2 separate regions of the Homo sapiens genome follow, and region 1 is linked to region 2. Evidence: promoter capture Hi-C in 16 types of primary human blood cells and fetal thymus (Javierre and others, 2016). All regions are on one chromosome and are shown on one strand. Each heading gives the region's core, a stretch centred on a gene start or on the middle of the fragment in contact. The rest is flanking DNA. Distances are from core to core; before and after follow the strand shown.

What was found. Contacts are between HindIII fragments. The CHiCAGO score rates a contact against its expected background, and 5 or more counts as called.
Region 1: the fragment with the promoter of LEMD3 here is called in contact with the fragment with the promoter of XPOT in region 2 in 1 of 17 cell types (non-activated CD4 T cells); the score reaches 5.5 in non-activated CD4 T cells.

Annotation. Positions count from the first base shown.
Region 1 is chr12:65,168,206-65,170,905 of GRCh38, reverse strand. LEMD3 (LEM domain containing 3) reads right to left here and starts at 1,323. Exons shown (of 13, transcript NM_014319.5): 1 at 1-1,323. The coding sequence starts at 1,309. It overlaps LOC124902953 (a long non-coding RNA gene), which reads left to right and starts at 1,490. Exons shown (of 2, transcript XR_007063349.1): 1 at 1,490-1,689. RefSeq lists enhancers at 166-245, 1,156-1,305, 988-1,560, 1,746-1,805 and silencers at 239-442, 826-1,035. The HindIII fragment of the contact is 1,790 bases long and covers 1,177-2,700 here.
Region 2 is chr12:64,403,024-64,405,859 of GRCh38, reverse strand. XPOT (exportin for tRNA) reads right to left here and starts at 1,468. Exons shown (of 25, transcript NM_007235.6): 1 at 1,056-1,468. RefSeq lists enhancers at 1-746, 1,844-1,893 and silencers at 854-963, 1,294-1,453. The HindIII fragment of the contact is 10,073 bases long and covers 1-2,836 here.

The DNA of each region.
Region 1 (2,700 bases), core at 74-2,573, 770 kb before region 2:
GGTAGGTATGATTGGAGCCCGTATGATTGGCGTGATTGATCCTGAGTGAACTAGAGGCGGCCACCGCCGCACTGGGAGGGAGACTGTTAGAATAAATCCTGGGGGAGTCCACACTGAAGGCCCCACCGCCAATATGATTATTGGTTTTCAGAAGGGAGCCTGTTGACGAATCCAAGGTTGAGTCCATGTCAGTAAGTGGCGGGGGCAGGAGAGGGGTCAGTTTCTTAGCGTTAACACGGTATCTAGGAACGGGGCTGGAGTCCACTTGATCACACCCTCCTCCCTGCTCCGCGGCCGCCGCCTCTTCGAGGTTTCGGCTCCTGTCTAGACTCCCGGCAGCCGCCGCCCTGTCATTCATCGCGAGTCCTCCCCCTCCCTGAACTGAAGTCTCCAGCCTGCCGCCGGCCGATTTAGCAGTCAGCGGGGGGAGAGGCTTACTATGGGTTCGTCTGGGCCGATGCCGGGAAAGGGAGTCGTCCTTTAATACCTGTCTGCTGGAGGCCACGTCGTCGTCGTCCTCTTCCTCTGAGTCCGAATAGTTTTCCCGGCAGCTGTAGGGGACAAGCCGGCTGCCATTCACGGTCCGGCTCGCCCAGAGCGGCTCCTCGGTCTCCGGGTCCCTCTCCTCACCGTCCTCTCCCTCCCCTTCCTCGTCCTCCACTGCTCCATCTTTCCCCGGCGGGGTCTGCAGCTCGGGGCCCGCCGGCCTCCTGGCCCCCCACCACGAGTGGGGCTTCCTTCGCTCTGCAGAGTTGCTGTTAGTCACCTCGCTGGCGGCCAGGGGCGCCGGCGGCGCTTTGAGCCCGCGGTACTGGAGCGAAGCCCGGTCTTTCCTCCCGCCGCCGCCGGCCTGGTCCCGGGGACTGGCCTCCACGTCCGACTCGTCCGAGCTGAAGCCCAGCAGCACTTTGCTGCCAGCCGCGGGGGCGGCGGAGGCGCCCCCGGGCCCTCCCAGGAGGCTCTCTGGGCCAGAGGCCGAGATTCGGCACAGGCCCCCAGGAGTCCGTAAGTAGGAGAGGTCGCCCGAGACCGGCCGGACCCCCATCCCCGCGGCCGCCGCCGCCGCTGGTCCCGCGGCTGCGACCGTGGCGGCTGCCGTGTTATTGTTATTACTGTTCCGCGTCTTGTTGCCGCGGCCCCCTGACCGGTGCTGTTGCTGCTCTTCCTCTCGAAGCTTCTTCAGCTTCTTGAGGTAGACCGGGCGGGTGCTCTCCGTCACTGGTCCGGGAGACAGGCCGTAACGGCGGAGCTGAGAGAAAAGCTCCTCATCCGAGAGCTGCTGAGGCGCCGAAGCTGCTGCCGCCGCCATTTTCTCTCCAGGGTGTTTTACAAGCTCCGCGCTACCGGAAGTGACGCGCCGCCCTAGACCCTGAACTAGACCGCGCTGCGTCGCCCTCCCAGCGCCGCGGGCATCTCGGCCAATGGGAGGCGCGGGAGGAGCTCACCTGAGCGGGAAAGAGCCACCTGAGCAGCGCGCGGCTCCCACGGCGGAGACTGTTTCTACTCTCTCACCTTGAGGTGTCGGCGCATTCTCCCCCTGCTCTCTATCTCATCTCCAGCTGTTCTCCGCCCTGCCCTTCCAAGTGCCGTTCCCGGGAGCTGTCTCTTACTAAACCACACCTTGACCTCACCTTCCTAGGTTCCTGCCACCGGGCAGTAATAACTGAAATCTACCTTGAAGTTTATGGCGTAAGTTTTCTTTACATCTGGATTCCCAATGCCGAGGGAGCCTAGACCTACTGAAAGAAATTCTGCTGGCCAGACTAGATTGGCAGCTTTCCCGTCTGACTTCAGGTTGTCTATTTTCAGTTCGTCTTTAGCTTGACCTACCAAAAAAAAAAAATTTTTAAGTGACTTTCTCTCGCTGCTCTTTTTGAGAAGCCTCACCTCTCTCATTCTGAGAAGATACGGAGTACACCAATCACAATACAATTTTCTTCTAGCGTAATGGCTGTTCATTCATTAGTTAATTGTAAGATATTATCTTTTTTTCCTTTTTTGAAACCTAATGACTTTACTACGTCAGCACTTGAAAGTGAAAGAGCTTGTCTGCTTCATTCTAAGACTCTCAGAGACATAACACATGATCCTATTTATTTCCTTCTTAGCACCTTTCCAACCAATAGTTATTTATCAGTTATTAATAAATATTTGTTTACTTTCAAAATTATTTATTGTCCTATCCTTTTGGACTATAATAAGCTCCATGTGTGGAGGAACCTTGCTTCTGTTACTCACAATACTAGTAGAAGCTCAATAAATATTTGTTGAATGAATTAAAGAATTGCAAAGAGAGGATAGTATGAGATGAATATTTTGAAATAAGACTAGTGCCAGGTGAGGTGGAGAAACCTTCACACAAAGTCAAAAAAACAAGGACAAGACCTGGAACCCCAACTCTGCCATTTACAGAATAGGAAATGAATCCCAGAGAGGTGAAATGTGCCCCATGTGGTGAAGATCTTGTCCCATTTTCCCATTTCCCCAAACCTTGGCAGACAGACAATTCTTTAGTACTTCAATCCTAGTAGCTACAAAATACTACAATAATTTTTTGTTGTTGAATGAGTTATTTTACCTATTACATTACCCTATACACCTGTACAGAAAAACGTTAGTCAAAAGCATAAATACGGCCGGGCGCGGTGGCTCACGCCTGTAATCCTAGCACTTTGGGAGGCGGGGCGGGGGGCGGGGGTC
Region 2 (2,836 bases), core at 219-2,718:
CGGATCGCGAGGTCAAGAGATCGAGACCATCCTGGCTAACACGGTGAAACTCCATCTCTACGAAAAATACAAAAAGTAGCCAGGTGTGGCGGGGCGCACCTGTAATAGAGCTACTCGGGAGGCTGAGGCTGCAGAATCACTTGAACCTGGGAGGCAGAGGTTGCAGTGAGCCGAGATGGCACCACTGCACTGCAGCCTGGGCGACCGAGCGAGACTCCGTCTCAAAACAACAACAACAAAACCCCAAAAAATGTTTCAATACGGTAAACAATTATGCATCTTGCAAAGGTTCTTGGGGGAAGGCAAGCAACATACTTAAAATATTAAGCCTTAACTTTTCCTGGATAGCCATTAAGAATCAAACAATTTGGAAAAATTCCTCTACACCTACTGAAGACTGTTTCAAATACTACGACTGAATCTTTCCAGCCTTTTAACACCACGCTGACAAGTCGGTTTAATAAAACGTAACTCTCCCCCAACCCCCGCCCGCCACAACTAATTAGCACTTTCAAAAAGTACTCGTTTTTCTGGTTACAGGGAAACCTCATGCTTCTCTAGTCCTGCAGGATGGTGAGGAAGGTTTGAGAAGAAATGGAGCGTCCGTGCTGGCCAATTACTGCACAGAAATAACACTTTTCCTTTTTGTCCAGGGGTGGGGGAAGAATCAAGTTTGAGGTCTCCACAGTTGATAACGCTACAACGATGACTAACGGGCTTCGGAACCACAGGCGATGCCGACCCTCCTCTGCTAGCCTTGCTCCCATCCCTCCCCCGATCCCTCCCCTAAAGGAAGCCTCGTGGCAATTCGGGTGATGAAACACCAAGCAACCGCCGGCCACGCACTCGGGACGCGCTCCTCGGCGGCGGCCCCGGCTCGTACCCACCCCCACCCGGTCCGCCCAGCCAGGGGGTGCACCGCCATAGAGGGTCCCAAGCCTGCACCCTCCCTGGCGTCGGGACTCCCCCGGGCCGGTCCGCCCCGGCCAACTTCCTCGAAGCCTCACGCGGACCAAACCTGGTCCCGGTCCCGCTGCCCCCGAGCCCCGAGTCACCTTCCCTATCACTCCATCCCGCCTCCCAGCCTGCACTCCAGATGGTCAGCCAGCGGAGCGGAGCGGCGCGGCACGCAGAGAGCTGGGAGAGCGGCCCTCGTCCTTGTCGCCGTAGTCCTCCGCCACGGCCGCAGCTACAACGCCAGAGACGGTGCTGGCCGGGACCGCGCGCCTCTAGTCGCTCTGCGTCCCCTGGCACCTTCTCTTGCGTGGCGCCGGGCAGGCAGGCAGGCAGGCAAGCAAGCAAGCAAGCAAGCGGGCGGGGTCGGCGCCCCAGGAAGGGAAAGAGCGCGAGGGCCGGCTAACGCCGCCGCCGCCGCCGCAGCCGCCGCCGCCGCTGAGTCAGCGCGAAGCGCGCTCCCCGCGTCGGTGCCGCGCGGGCGGGCGCCGGCGCCAGCAGTCTCTTGGAGAGTGCGGGCGGCAGCCCGCGGGCTGACGCCGGAGGCCTACAACTCCCAGCATGCAGGGAGCGGCCGGCGCTTCCGGGCGGCGAGGCGCACACGCGCTCCCTGGCGCTCGCCGGAAGGCGTGGTCACCGGGGCTTGAGGTGCATGCCGGGATGAGGCATCCGGCCCAGGAGTCCCTACCCAGCTCCTAAATCCCCGGCTGTGTCTGCGTGGTGTCAGAGCTCAAGCGTCAGGTTCGCCCCGAGCATTCCACAAAGGGCTTCTAGTAGTTGAGAGTACGGATTCACGAATCAGGATGACGTGGTTCTAACCACGTGTGAGTCAATTTAATTGCTTGTCTACGGCCCCAAGTGTCCCGAGTACAGCAGTGTAAAGCTCTGATGAGTGCTGACAGGTTTTCAAAATTAATTAATTAATTTATTTATTTATTCTTTGAGACGGAGTCTCGCTCTGTCGCCCAGGATGGGGTGCAATGGCGAGATCTTGGCTCACTGCAACCTCCGCCTCCGGGGTTCAAGCAGTTCTCCTGCATCAGCCTCCTGAGTAGCTGGGATGACAGGCGCGCGCCACCATACCCAGCTAATTTTTGTATTTTTCGTAGAGACAGGGTTGCACCATGTTGGACAGGCTGATCTCGAACTCCTGACCTCAAGTGATCACCTGCCTCGGCCTCCCAAAGTACTGGGATTACAGGCGTGAGCCACGGTGTCCGGTCCAAAATTTATTTTAAACAGACTAAAATTTTGTCCATGAAAAGAAGGAGAGCATTCTTAGGAAGTCCTACTCACGGGATCTTTCGATGCTACTAAATGTCACTTCATTTATTTGGTCACAGATTTATTAATTTATTAATGCAACATAGAGGCAGTGTAGGCTTAGGCTGCCTCGACTTGACTGCCACTCCGCCTCCTCACTAGTTGACCTCAGGCACTTTACTTTAGTCTATCCATGCTTCAGTTTACTCGTATGTAAAATGGGGATTGTTAATAGTACCGACCTCAAAGGGTTTCTGTGAGGTTTGAGTTAATACATGTGTTTGACACACAATGTGCTCAATATTTACATTTCATTGTTGATTATTCAATGTGTACTAAATACAGACTAGGTTGCTGCCACAGACTACAAACAAAACTTGGAGAGGGAGGAATGGTAAGAGCATAGAATAAAACTAATGTTTTAACAGCTACCTTTATTTAGCTGTCCAAGACACTACACCAGGCATTTCCTATATAAAATACCTTGAATCACTCTTGCATCATGTTTCTAATTTATGTGTTTAAAATGTCAGGCTAGTGGCTACAAGATGTCGCTAAAGGAGAACTGGGTTTTAATTTTTTCTTGTTTTTAGAGAAAGGGTCTCGCTCTGTTACCCAG